4 separate regions of the Homo sapiens genome follow, and regions 1, 3 and 4 are each linked to region 2. Evidence: promoter capture Hi-C in 16 types of primary human blood cells and fetal thymus (Javierre and others, 2016). All regions are on one chromosome and are shown on one strand. The core of a region is centred on a gene start or on the middle of the fragment in contact, and the rest is flanking DNA. Distances in the headings are between cores, read along the strand shown. Region 1 overlaps ANAPC13 (anaphase promoting complex subunit 13). Region 2 holds the start of MRPL3 (mitochondrial ribosomal protein L3). Region 3 holds the start of SRPRB (SRP receptor subunit beta). Region 4 holds the start of TOPBP1 (DNA topoisomerase II binding protein 1).

Region 1 (3,183 bases), core at 356-2,855, 3.0 Mb after region 2:
GAGACAGTCCTAGATTACCCAGCCTCCAGAGTCTGTTGGCTGACTGCACAACACAGGCAAGCCTGGCAGGGATCAGCTGAGCTGGTGCAGACTAGAAGTCCCTCCCAGCTGAGCTACAAAATCATGAAATAAACAGTTGCTCTTTTAAGTCACTAAGCTTTGGGGTGACTTGTTATGCAGCAAAACCTAACTGGCATACACATTGCCTTAGAATCGCAAGACAAGCGAAAGGTGTGGATTAGCAGCAGGGCCAAGCCAACTTCGCCTGGAAGTCAGCAGGGAAACCTCCTTCCACCCCTGCCACCCAAATGTTCTCCAATCTGAGCCATAAACTTCTCCAGAAATGGACGTCTCCTTTATTTTCTTGACTTTGTTTAGGCCCTCCTCCCTTGCCTAGACCACAACAGCTTGCCAATTGGTCTCACTTGCCCCTATCTCCATGTCACACCATCTCTAACAATGCTGGCTAAACTGATTTTCCAAAAGCCAAATCTGAGCATAGCAGTCTTGCTTTTAAGACCATTCATTCCTGGATCTCCTGAGGATGAGGTCTAAGTGTGATATCAAATACCACTCTCAATCTGATCCAAGCCCAACTTTTCAGCCTACTTATGTGACAAATGTATTCTTCATCCACAGTGAATGACTCACCATGTCCCAAAGCCTTTCAAAACTCTGGGCCTTTACACATCTGTCCCCTCTGCTGCAATACCCTTGTCTACCTCCACTAAACTTCTGGTCCTTCCTTATGACCCAGCTTAAACATGACATTCTCTCAGAAGCCTTTCTGATGCCCACCAGGCAATCAGCCACTTCGTATATGATGTGGCTGTTTATGCCCCCACCTAGAATATTTATTATCACAATTACTTATCTATAAGTGTTGCCTTTCTAGACCCCTCAGGAGGAGGAACTGTATCTTATGTTCACATAGTCTTATGGCACACAGTAGGCTTCAAAAAATGCTTGTCAAATGAATGAATGAACAGAAGTTCACAAGACAGGATTTGGAACTTCACAGACCTAGGTATATGTTATATGAAGCCCTACTTACCTGCTACCAGACTTTGGGCAAGTTGCCCTTTCTGATCCTATTCTTTTCCTATAAAATGGGAATAACAGCACCTCCCTCACAGGGTTGTTTAAGAATTAGAGATAATGTATATTTCCAACCTCAGTCCATGGCATAAAACTGGTATTCAATAAATGACATCTATAATTCTTATTATGCTCTCTCTTTTGACTATTTTCCTAAGCTTGAACTAAGCTATGACTTATTTGATATGTATATTATTCATTGAACATATTACTATCTCTTATTCGTAAATGAAAATACAGATGAACTATTTTATTTCTTTGCAAACAGCAACAGCAGATATTCTAACTATAAATTATATTTTATTCAATACTAACTACTCTTCTCAGGGCAGCTGGCATGCTTTAAAGAAAAACAGTCCTGTTTTCCCTTTTTTAGGCCTCTATGACATAAATAGGATTTTAAACAAACATTTATATAAGCAAAACTTTTGGATCACTTATTACATGAGGTTTAACAAACTCCCTGCAGCAGAGTTTTCCAAAGATGGGGAAGAAAAGAGTATTCCAGAAGGCCACTGGCCTAAACGCAAAAGAATACCCAGGTATCTTCTGAATATTTTCCAGGGAACCTAAGATAGGTGTATGCTCCAAGAATGTAAGTTTCTAAAAATGCTGAAAGACTGATGAGCCACAGGCAGGGAAGTAAGAAACAGAGCTCATATGCTGCTGCTTCTTGTTCTTCCCCATCTTGCGCATTAAACTCTCATTATTTGGTTTCTCTGGTTTTCGTGTGGTGGACAGAACATGGCTCAGAAAATCGGGGCTCTAGTCCTGGCATGACTCCTAACTGACCTGGCCATGTTAGCTCCCTGAACCACATTTTTCTTCAAATAAAACATACAACTGGATGCTCTCCAGAAGCTTCTAGAGTTAGAGAATTCCACAGCTTTGATTTCTTTGCCACACTAGTTTATCTTCCATTGATATCCCTCCTCCACTAGTTACTGCCAGATCAATACCTTTAACCCATCCTCAGCTCAAATCATAACCTACCAGTGGTATTGCGACATCCTCATAAGGCAGCTTGTCTTCTCGCCAAGCATCATCAATCAAATCCAAGATCCTTCCATCTCTCTGAACCTCACTGTCCATTTTCCTGCAGCTTTGATCTTGTCAAATCTGTAAGCCAAAGAGGTTATTTCTTAAACACGAAGACTGAAGAGATGGTATAATCCACTATTAGGATTCTCCAGGCTTTTTAGTCTGGGGCCACCTTTTGGGAAAAGGTTCATTTTCTCATATGGGCCGGGTGACTACTTTGATCACAGTTCCTCTCTCCAACCCCAACTGATACATATTTTATAGTGTATACTGGACAGGCATAGCCCAGCTGACAGACCAGTGTCATAGAGTGTGACAGGAGAGCAACACGTTAAACGAGGCCCTCAAATATTAATATGTTGCATCTCAATGTAGCTCTTCTCTTCTAACTTGAACATTCACCTTTTCCTGTTTGTGATGCCTTTGATGAGTCCCTGATTCATAATGGCCAGCTAAGTTTCCTTTCTAGCCCCTGGCTCAAACCTCAGCATTCTTAGGCACAGGAGTCACACGAACATACTGTAAAGGAAACGGCTTCCTTCCCTAAAATAGTACCCAGGCTGAGATCTGAATAAAGCACTTCTAGGTGAACACCAGTGGTAGAACCTCATACTGCTAAAGTTTCTCCAGTTTCTGCTTCCCTTTGGGGTAGCTCCTTCCTCGGAGGTTCCTTCCTCTAATTCTTAACGCTACACTCCCTTCAATTTCTGGCCCAAATGGTCACGATGCTTATTTAGCTCCTTGACCATGGCTGATTCCCCATTTTTCTCTGAAACTGCTATAATCTAATCCAAAAGGCTGGCTAGCTTGTAGGATACTTCTGGATTTCCCTGTTTCCAAGGTTGGGCCCTGACTCATCATAGGCATCATCCTATGGGTGCTCCCTGCTACCAAGTGACAATCCAAAAAGCCCGGAAGCCACTGGCATCAAAGGTACTCTCAGTTTCTGAGACTATGGAGACTCACACAATAAGCAATTTTGGGGTGGTGGAGCGGGGTGGAACCCACCATCTGGAGGTGCTTTTTTCAGAGCTCAGCCTGGGT
Region 2 (3,074 bases), core at 1-2,500:
AAAAGAAAAAATAAATAAAACCAAACCACAATTTAAAAACTTCCTCCACTTAATATAGAAAAGGGAAGTCACAAATTGGAAAGTGTAGTCAGGGCCTTGGGAAAGGGCTTGGATTCTGTATACCTTTTTTTCAGGTCTCCAACCTTTTCCTCACTCCCCACATTCCTTCGGATAAGGCTCACATTTAAACTGTTAGTCGTTACCCTGGAGAAAAAAATTCATCTTCTCCTCGCAGATAAACATATTCCCCAAAAAACAGTCCTACCTATAGACATGAAAAGCCACTAACCCATTTGGAAGTGTACCTTAATAGTTTTACATTCAGTGGAGGTGGCAGAAGGTGGCATGTTGATCTTTGTCTAACAAGCTCACCTCCTCCCTGCAATGACATGGCCTAGGTTCAGAGAAGTGAAGAAACTGGGTGTGCAAAGTTAAAAGATCCACAAAAGGCATGACCTCTGAACAGGTGAACATACCAAGAAAGACCTTAGTGGGCGGAGGTCAGGAAGAAGGGGTGTAATTCTTGCATGGAGGGTCAGAACAGAAGTAAAGCTTTCTGCAGTCTACTCTCCTTTTGTAGTCAGATAAATTCAGGCTAGATTCCTAATTTTCCACTTATTAGTTGAGTGACTTTGGGCAAATTAACTCACCTCCCTAACCTTCAGTTTTATCTGTAAACCTTATGATAGCAGTTTGCTCCCGTGAGGCTACATAAGGCACCTAATACACTTAGCAGAGCGCTTAGTACCTGGCAAACGCTCACTAATTGTAAGATATGATTGCTGTTAATAGCGTTCGCTGCTAGTGGCTGGCTCATAAGCGTTTTTTAAAAATCACCACTTCAATCCCCTTAGAACGTGCTTCCTTAGGTTAACGGCCCTTATTCTTCTGTGTCCCACGTCTCAACAGAGCCCCTTCCTCCTCCACCCAGGGGAGGCCCAACTGCACCAGGCCATTCCACTGCTTCAGGACGCAACTGTGCAGGTAGGACACCCTCACACCTTCCTACCTGTTCCCCGGGCCCAGGGCAGCACCCAGGCCGTCCCCGAGTCGACCCAGCACCTGGGCGCCGACCTGCGTCAGCAGCCTCCAACCCGGCATGGATTAGCCCGGGAAGACTCGACTCACGACTTCCGGGCGCCCTGCCGCTCTGCTTTCAGGGAGTCCCCACGCCACCGCCACGTGGACGCAGTAGCCGTGGGGAAGTTTTCGCAATGGCCGCCGGAACGGTCGCCGGCCGATGCTCTCTGCGACGGAAAGAAAGCCGCCGGACCCACTTCCGGTGCGTTTTACAATGAACTCCGGGCACTCGAGTCGCTCCCCGGAAACTATAGTTCTGCTTCCACCGTTGTCCTACTTTGGATGTGAGTTGGAGTAGGTAGGGGTGGGAAGGGACTGACTCGCCTCTCCAGGGGTAAAATAAAAGGGATGTTCAGAGTTTAAACTTTAGAAGAATAAGGACAGACTTCCTGAGGACGCTAAGGAAAATGAAGACACTTCTAAATAGTGCCCGTTGTGAGGCAATGCATTATGCTAAGCAGCGCTTCATAATCCTATATTTGTTAATCATAAAAAACGGTCCTGAAAGGAAGTATTTATTTTTCTATTATAAATGAGGAAACTGACTCAGAATTTAGGTGCTGGTCCAAAACAACACATCTGGCAGAGGAGCAGAGTTGGCACTGAAACAGGGTTGGCATGTGTTATCAATAGACTACACCCATAGAAATGATGTATGCCTTCTAGGGCTGGATCATAAAACATATTGTTACTTCAGTTTTTGTCTCTTGGATTGCTCCCTGTGGAGAAAGCTAGCCTTCATTTCCTGCAGACACTCAAACAGCTCTGCAGGGAGGAACATATAAAGAGGAATCAACTAGCCAGTCATGACTGAGCCACCTAGGAAGTGGATCCACCAGTCCTCGGCTGCAACTCATGGAGACGTTAAGCCTGAATCTCCCAGCCAGGCCGCTCATGAATTACTGACTAGGAGAAATTGCCAGAGAAAATAAATGATTACCGTTTTTTTGAGTCATTAAGCTTTAGGGTAATTTGTTATGCAATAATAGATAGCTAATACACCTGCACAAAAAATCCCCTGTCTTGGGTTCCAGATCTAGCCTAATAACCATGTATGTGACTAGGACATTTATTCTTCTACTAATTCCCTTATTTGTCAGATTACTGTTTGTAGAAATTTGGAAATAAGAACTTTAAAGTGTAGCTATTTCAACCTTCTCTTTTTACTAGAGATCTGGCTATCTTGGTTTAACAGGTCCAGACAATGGTCAATTCCTGGCCATTACTTGGACTTTAGTGGGCTAAAAAATCTTTGCTTTGCTTGTCCATTCATTCCACTCATTGCTGTTGCAGTTACCTTAGACACTTTTCAATAATACTTTGGACCTTGAAGGAAAAACTACATCTCTTCATTCTAGCCATGCTGCCTGGCTTCCCAGATACTTAAGGATGGCTCTTCATTGAACAAACATGTTTTGAGGTGTGCTACATGCAAGAAGTTGAGAATAAGAAGATTTCTGTACTACTGCCAATAACTAACATTTCTTATCCATATAGTGTGCTAGAGTATGTGCTCAGCATTGTGGAAGCCCATAAGCCAAGGCTACTAGAAGAAAACGTGAACTCATACAAAGTCAAGTTTAATTAGCTTGATGCAGCAAAAGACAGCATATGTCTGAGGATGTTTCCAAAAGAGTGACCTGGGAGGGGCTTGAAATGAAATTTGGACTTAAGGCTGAGTGATTTTAAAGTGGCATCAGAGAAGCAGGAACTTGTTTTAGAATGGGTGCTGTCAAGAAGAAAGGACAGTTCAGCAATTGGATATCTTGATAGTCTTTGTTCTAGAGACAGGAAGAACAGAGAGGAAGTGGGCATGATGTTCATAAGAAAGCAGGAATCACTCAGAATAAGGAACTGTTAGTCATTTTGCTGCAGTGGTGTGGCCTACAGTACGGTCTGTAAGAAATATTGTAATGATGGGCTGGGCGTGGTGGCTCAGCACTTTGGGATGCCAAGGCGGGTGGATCACGAGGTCAGGAGATTGAGACCATCCT
Region 3 (3,446 bases), core at 795-3,294, 2.3 Mb after region 2:
TCCCATAACACCTACCTGGCTGAATAGGGTCGGCCCTACTTTCAGCAGAAATACCTCCTGCAGTTTTCAACAGCCCCAGCTCTCCTGGGCGTTGATTTTCCTAGTTGCTTCCTTTAATGCAGACATTTGAGTTTGCAGCCCTAGATTGACAGTGTAGGGGCACTGAATTACTTAGGGTTCCCACATACATCGTTTCTTACACTCATTTTCTTCTGCACAGCACCTTTTTTTCCTTTAACCACTCGCAGATGCTAACTCATTCTTCAGGACTCAATTCCAATGTCCAGAAGCTTTTCTCTGAACTCATGATGGACTCCGCGTCCCATTATGTATTCCCACATCGCTCCGTACATCCATCTGTCACATCCCTTGTCACATTAAATTCAGATTAAATGTTTGTAGGATGCTTGAGTTCTTCACAAGTCTCACGTCACTTAGCGACGGTCGGGAACTCCTCAGTGGTAGTTTCGGGAGCCATTCATTCATTTTATTCATTTCATCATTCTTTCAACAGTCATAACGTAGGTGACGACGACTGACTCATCTCTTAAAAGATGTGTGTGTCCCTCGACAAATAACCTGTCTGCCCCTATCGTTCTGTAGGAGGACGGAGTCCCAGAGAACTACAACTCCCATCAAGCACTTGGGGGATCGCCGCGGCTGAGGGAGAGACTATGGCTTAGGAACCACCATTCGCGTGAGGCTCTGCTCCCCGCGCCTGCGCAGAGTGCAGGGCCACGTCGCTTTTGCTGTACCGGGGACCACGCGTCTCATCCATGGCTTCCGCGGACTCGCGCCGGGTGGCAGATGGCGGCGGTGCCGGGGGCACCTTCCAGCCCTACCTAGACACCTTGCGGCAGGAGCTGCAGCAGACGGACCCAACGCTGTTGTCAGTAGTGGTGGCGGTTCTTGCGGTGCTGCTGACGCTAGGTAAAAGGCGGCCGGTGGTCATGGCGGGTTTGGGGCGGGCAGAGGTCCGGGCTTTGGCTGCACCGCTGCAGGCCGGGGACGCGGGGCTGAGAGGGCGCCTTGAGGGCATCAGGAGGGTGAGACCCACCCAGTCTACACCCCACCCTCTCTCCTGAAGCAGCGGCAGCAGCTGGGCGTTAAGGGGGATGCCGGGCAACCCCCGGAGTTAACGTCCTGGTCCTTGGGGCGCAGATTGCTCTTCGTCATCTGCCCTGTTACGCTTGAGCGCGCTGTTCCTCGCCTTCCGCTGTTCTCACTGCAAAGACTCAGGGTCTTGACACCAACTTTCAGCCTCCCGTGTTTGCGTGCGGGCGCTGGGATACCAAGGTAGTGAGATAGCACCTGAGTCCCAGTCAGAGTAAGGACTGCAAAGAAAAGTTGACAGTTGACAGTGCCTGGCTCTCAGTGGATCCCTAACAACAGCAATAGTAACCATTATGATAAAAGTCAGTTCCAGGTGAATGAGGTGTTTCGTCACAGACTTCTGTGAATTTCCCCACCCCAGCCATGCACATATACTGATTCCCAAGGCGTAATTTTTGTTGTTTTTCTCTGTCTATTCCACAGTCTTCTGGAAGTTAATCCGGAGCAGAAGGAGCAGTCAGAGAGCTGTTCTTCTTGTTGGCCTTTGTGATTCCGGGAAAACGTTGCTCTTTGTCAGGGTAAATGATTTCATTGACACCCCTGTTAAGCTTAATAGAAAATTTTATAGATCCCAGTATTCCTGTCATCTCACGGTTTATTTTGTAAAAGAAGCTGATGCTGTTAAATTTGGAAGTTAATTCTTGACTTACTTGGGAGAACAAAAAGACTCGTAGAAACCCATAATTGAGAAATATTGGTCATTTCTCCTTTTTTTTTTCTGTTTGCCCTTGCCAGATGCTGATATTTAGTCTTTATCACATTCAAGGATTTTATTTAATTAGTTTCATTCCAGAATAGCAGAAGGCATAGAAGCTAGTGTCCTACAGTTTATAATTCCTTCGTTAACAAATTCTTAGGACAGTTTATCGAAGACACTTTTTCACAGGGTGATCCTTCTTTGACATAGTGGGCTAGTTAGGCTTCTTTTTACTAATATTTATTTTTAATACATTTAGTATTTTTAACAGTGTATTTTAATGTGGTGAATAGGAGAGGTTTTCTGCTTTTTAACTCTTCTTTTTGAGAGTATAAATTATTTCCCTTCCATTAAAGAAATACCTCCATTTTTTTTTTTTTTTTTTTTTTGAGGGAGTGTCTCACTCCAATGCCCAGGCTGGAGTGCAGTGGCGAGATCTCTGCTCATTGCAGCCTTGACCTCTGGGACTCAGATGATTCTCCCACCTCAGCCTCCGAGTAGCTGGGACTACAGGCGTGCAACACTACGCCCGGCTGATTTTTTATATTTTTTGTAGAGATGAGATTTTGCCATGTTGCCCAGGCTTCAAATCATTTTTGTTGGTTAAAAATCTTTACAGAAGCTTGGCAAATTTGGCCACTAACTGTCTTTTGAGAATAATGTTGTTTTTATTCCACTGAGGAGTAAAATATGCAATTAATTAGATTTTTTTCTACAGGTAAAAAAAATCAATATCGTCTTTTTCACCTGTCGGAAGCAGCATTCATTTACTTAACCTTACACCTGGGAGACTTAGAATAATATAACTCAATTTAGGTGTGCTATTAAAATGTTGAATATCACCCATCTTGTTTTTTTTACAGTTGTTAACAGGCCTTTATAGAGACACTCAGACGTCCATTACTGACAGCTGTGCTGTATACAGAGTCAACAATAACAGGGTAAGATGTTTGTGGAGTTTTGGAGTCTGACAGTCTTACTTTACTGTGGTGTGTCAGTTAAGGACATTTTTAGGATGAGTTCATCTGAGGATGTAAGTACCATTTGTAGCTTATTTTTATGGAGAAACATATTCTTTGTGACAAATTCTCTTGACAATCTGTACAGTAGATTTAATCATGCCCTCCTCTGCATTGTTGTACCTTAATGTACAGTAATGTTATATCACATTTTATTCTTATTTTTTGTTTCTGTGTCTTCTTTCCAACTTTACAATGAGTTCTTAAGAGTGGGCATTAAACCTTTTAAGTTTTGAATAGGTAATACATGCACATGGGACAAAAATTCAAAAGGTTAGAAAAGATATTTGGTGAAAAGTAATTTTTCCTTTCCTTTCCCCACTACCTAGTTTTCTCCTCAGAAGCAGTGACTTACTTTTTTTTGTATGTAGTCTTCCGGATGTTCTGTGCATATACAAACATGTCTGTATATCCTTTATTGTTGTTTTTTTTTAAATGCTGTTCTGCCCATTATTTTTCTCATACGGCTGATACAACTTGGGCTTTTCTTATTGTCCTACATTTGTATACATAGTACCATCTGGTTGGTTTATGAGCTGCATAGTACTCCACTCTGTTGCTATACCATAAAATTAAATTCTTACTTAATCTGGACCGTGTTAATAGACATTTAGTTT
Region 4 (3,015 bases), core at 516-3,015, 2.2 Mb after region 2:
CTTCACGTTTACTCAATATCTTTTTCTTCATAAAGCCTACCCTGATCACACCCTATTTAAGATTATAACCCCCTTCTCTTCCCACCCCAAGAAACATCCTCTGGAACCCCTTAACGTGTTTTGCTTTTTTCTCTTCCTAATTTATCATGTCTGATTAGTGTCTATGTCCTCCTGCTAGAATGTAAGCTCTGAAAGAACAGAAATCTTTGCCTGTTCTCATCACTGATAAATCCCAAGTACTAGAGAAGTGCCTATCAAATCATGAACACTTCAATAAATACTTGCTGAATGAATGAAGTTTAAAAAAATCTGCTACAAATGCTTCTCAAACTTTAATGCACACTGAAGATCTTGTTAGAAATGCAGATTCTAAGTCTGGGTTGGAGGCCAAGATTCTGCATTTCGAAGAAACTTCCAGGCCATGCTGATACTGCTGGGTTCTGTGAGAAGCAAGGATCTACATCACCCCTACTATCATCCAATTATTATACTGTACATAATAAAACATAATTTTTAACAATTAACCAAAAAATTTTCAAGTATGACCAGTACACAACTGACTCAAATTTCTACAGCACGCAAAGGACCACTCTGGCTAGGAGACAAATGAAAGCAACTTAATTTCCAAGAACTGTAGGTCAGCCATATTAAACAGCAATGTGATAATAGACTTCCAGCCCCCCGAAATACATAATGATGTACTTAGATCAATTCAAAAATATGTGATAATGATATATCTGTATTAATGTAGACTATAAAATTATTATGAAAGTGAAATATCTACTTCTAAGACATAAAGCCCAACAAATCAAAAACACTTAAAAACAAGAAAATGAATTCACGGTATTAAGATGTTTTCAACTCTTACCTCGAGAGCTTTAAAAAAACATTTGGAATTGTCTGAAGACTTTAAAAACTTCACAAAAAACGGTTCTTTGTCATTTCTGGACATTTCTGAACTGTCAAAATAAAGGAACCATTAACAAGAACAAAACCACATTAGATAAAAAGTTGCATGTTTAACCTACCTATTTTTCTGTGCAGACAAGAATGCCTAAAGACAGACATTCTGGCTCTGCCCGTGAATTCGTCAACGGCATTTCTAAGAAATCCTGGAACTTGGACAAAGCCAAGGTAAAAGATGACAACACCAATCCTTGCAAATCAGACAGCAAAATTAACCCGAATTGAATACACTGAGGAAGGCCCTGCTATGAAGGCTCTAAGCCCTTTAGGCCAATGGACATTCAATTGCACTTGTTTTAAGGATACACAGAGTGTATCTGTCCCTGCGGATACCCACGGCCTGCGAGGTACGTTCATCCCTCAGTAAACAGATTTTAAATATAAACATGGAAGCCAGTTAGCATGGTCTTGGCCCTGCATAAGGCTAGATGCTCCGGTTCCCATCTCCAGGAAAAGGCCTGGCTCTGGGATCACGGAAGCCACGTCCTCTCGGCGTCAAAGGCCCACCCGCCGGCTCCAGGGCCAGTTACCAGGACAGGAAAAGAGGGTCCTGAAGGCCACAGAAGGCATCGCGAACCCCAGTTGGGGCTGGGGAGGAGCTGTGTCCCCACTCCGCGCCTCACTTACCTCGTTGGAGCCTCGGGGTCTCCGGGCGGCGAGTCGGGGGACGCGCTGGCCGCAGGGCGGTGGCTGGGGTCGGGCGCCAGCCCGGCGCACAGCCCCCTCCCCCGACTCGGCGCCGCCCCTACCCCAAAGCAAACGCTGGAGAACCCGGAAATTGCCCAGAACGGGAACCGACTTTCGCGCCAACCGCGCGGCCGCGCTTGCCTTTTCCGGTGGAAGTGACGCCATCGGCAGCTGCAGCAGAAGAGCGGAAATGTCAAACGTGGAGGTGAGCAGTCTGTGGGCGGTGGGGCTTCAGGGAAAGCTTGGGCCGGACCCTTTGGGTTTAGGGCTTTGCTGGGCGGGCCTAGTCTCCGCTGCGAGTAGGCCCAGCGCCGTCGGTTCAAGAGGTAGGACCACAGGCCAGGAATACTCCTTTACTGTTAAAAAAGCCAGGGAAAGAAAGGATTTCCTCAATAGATATTTATTTTACACCTGTCTTATACCAGGCATGCACGGGAAAAGGTATTATCCAAAACAATTCCGTGAGGCAAATAGTGGTAGTTCCATTTTGTAGATGTAAAAACGGAGGAAGTTAAATGATGGGTTCAAGGGCACACGGCTAGTAGGTGGTAGAATTAATACTGCATCCAGGTCTTCTGACTACGGACTGGGTGGTTTCCCTCCAACACAGCAGGAATAGAATCACCGCCTAACACAGCCACAAGATGGCAAGGGAAGAAAGGATGACTTATTACACAGCTAATGCAAAGGGATCTTTGTCAAGATCTTCAATGGTCTCCCCTCCTCCTCCCCTTCAGTGGACATCGCCGTTCTCTTTCTCTGCATCTGCCTCAGTACTGGGGAGATTCTGGGACTGAACCTAAGATTCAGATGGCAGAGAGCAAAGGGAGAGGGGATAAGATGGGCCTGCAAACCTTAGTGATAACCAGCGGAAAACTGATTCGTTGTTGCTTCTTTTCATTTTATTCTTTTTTAAAAAAATTTTTTCTTATTTTATAAAATCTAGCCACTATACTAATGAGGATCATTTTATTATTCACTGCTGAGATTGAGAAAATGACTTTGGATTTACTAATGTAAAAGTATAATGCCATGTCCCTTGATTGTTTTTGTTTTTCTTTTCTTTTTAGAGCCTAAAGATAGTAATGAGCAGCTTGAGTCTTAAGTTTTTGAATACACCGATGGAAGGTGACAAAGATTCTTTGCTTGGCCAAACTTTAGTCAGACTCCTCAACCTTCTCGTAGGTTTATCTGTGCATTTCCTTGGAAAATCCAGTTAGAACCCTCTACCCTCAATATCTGATCAGGTTCCTCATCCTCTACCATCCAAGGTGATGTCTGATCACCTTGACCTATTTTCAGCAAGAAACCCCTTTACTCCTGAAGTTCCTTCTTAGTAATTTTTTATCCAGTGACCCCAAG

Evidence for each region. The method cuts DNA at HindIII sites, captures the fragments that hold promoters and counts their contacts. A CHiCAGO score of 5 or more calls a contact.
Region 1: a contact is called between a fragment that was not itself captured here and the fragment with the promoter of MRPL3 in region 2, in 5 of 17 cell types (total CD8 T cells, total B cells, naive B cells and 2 more). The highest score is 6.1, in total CD8 T cells.
Region 3: a fragment that was not itself captured here is called in contact with the fragment with the promoter of MRPL3 in region 2 in 5 of 17 cell types (naive CD8 T cells, naive B cells, activated CD4 T cells and 2 more); the score reaches 8.7 in naive CD8 T cells.
Region 4: a contact is called between the fragment with the promoter of TOPBP1 here and the fragment with the promoter of MRPL3 in region 2, in 2 of 17 cell types (activated CD4 T cells and total B cells). The highest score is 5.8, in activated CD4 T cells.

The regions. Positions count from the first base shown.
Region 1 is chr3:134,480,715-134,483,897 of GRCh38, forward strand. It overlaps ANAPC13 (anaphase promoting complex subunit 13), which reads right to left. Exons shown (of 3, transcript NM_015391.4): 2 at 2,092-2,217. The coding sequence starts at 2,190. Among named protein-coding and RNA genes, the nearest start is that of ANAPC13, 3.7 kb to the right of the region's middle. The HindIII fragment of the contact is 703 bases long and covers 1,255-1,957 here.
Region 2 is chr3:131,501,721-131,504,794 of GRCh38, forward strand. MRPL3 (mitochondrial ribosomal protein L3) reads right to left here and starts at 1,251. Exons shown (of 10, transcript NM_007208.4): 1 at 1,010-1,251. The coding sequence starts at 1,101. It overlaps LOC105374114 (a long non-coding RNA gene), which reads left to right and starts at 879. Exons shown (of 3, transcript NR_189111.1): 1 at 879-984. RefSeq lists enhancers at 887-1,573, 1,080-1,149. The HindIII fragment of the contact is 1,488 bases long and covers 551-2,038 here.
Region 3 is chr3:133,805,073-133,808,518 of GRCh38, forward strand. It overlaps SRPRB (SRP receptor subunit beta), which reads left to right and starts at 743. Exons shown (of 7, transcript NM_001379313.1): 1 at 743-930; 2 at 1,537-1,631; 3 at 2,674-2,751. The coding sequence starts at 777. It overlaps LOC105374116 (a long non-coding RNA gene), which reads right to left and starts at 411. Exons shown (of 3, transcript XR_924513.3): 1 at 16-411. RefSeq lists enhancers at 395-504, 595-654, 795-1,004, 1,115-1,164, 1,195-1,304. The HindIII fragment of the contact is 771 bases long and covers 1,660-2,430 here.
Region 4 is chr3:133,660,176-133,663,190 of GRCh38, forward strand. It overlaps TOPBP1 (DNA topoisomerase II binding protein 1), which reads right to left and starts at 1,766. Exons shown (of 28, transcript NM_007027.4): 1 at 1,594-1,766; 2 at 869-959. The coding sequence starts at 952. LOC124909487 reads left to right here and starts at 1,051. Exons shown (of 3, transcript XM_047449438.1): 1 at 1,051-1,171; 2 at 1,338-1,858; 3 at 2,724-3,015. The coding sequence starts at 1,051. The coding sequence ends at 2,873. It also overlaps a transcript of TF not described here. RefSeq lists a silencer at 1,553-1,722 and an enhancer at 2,123-2,192. The HindIII fragment of the contact is 9,162 bases long and covers 1-1,892 here.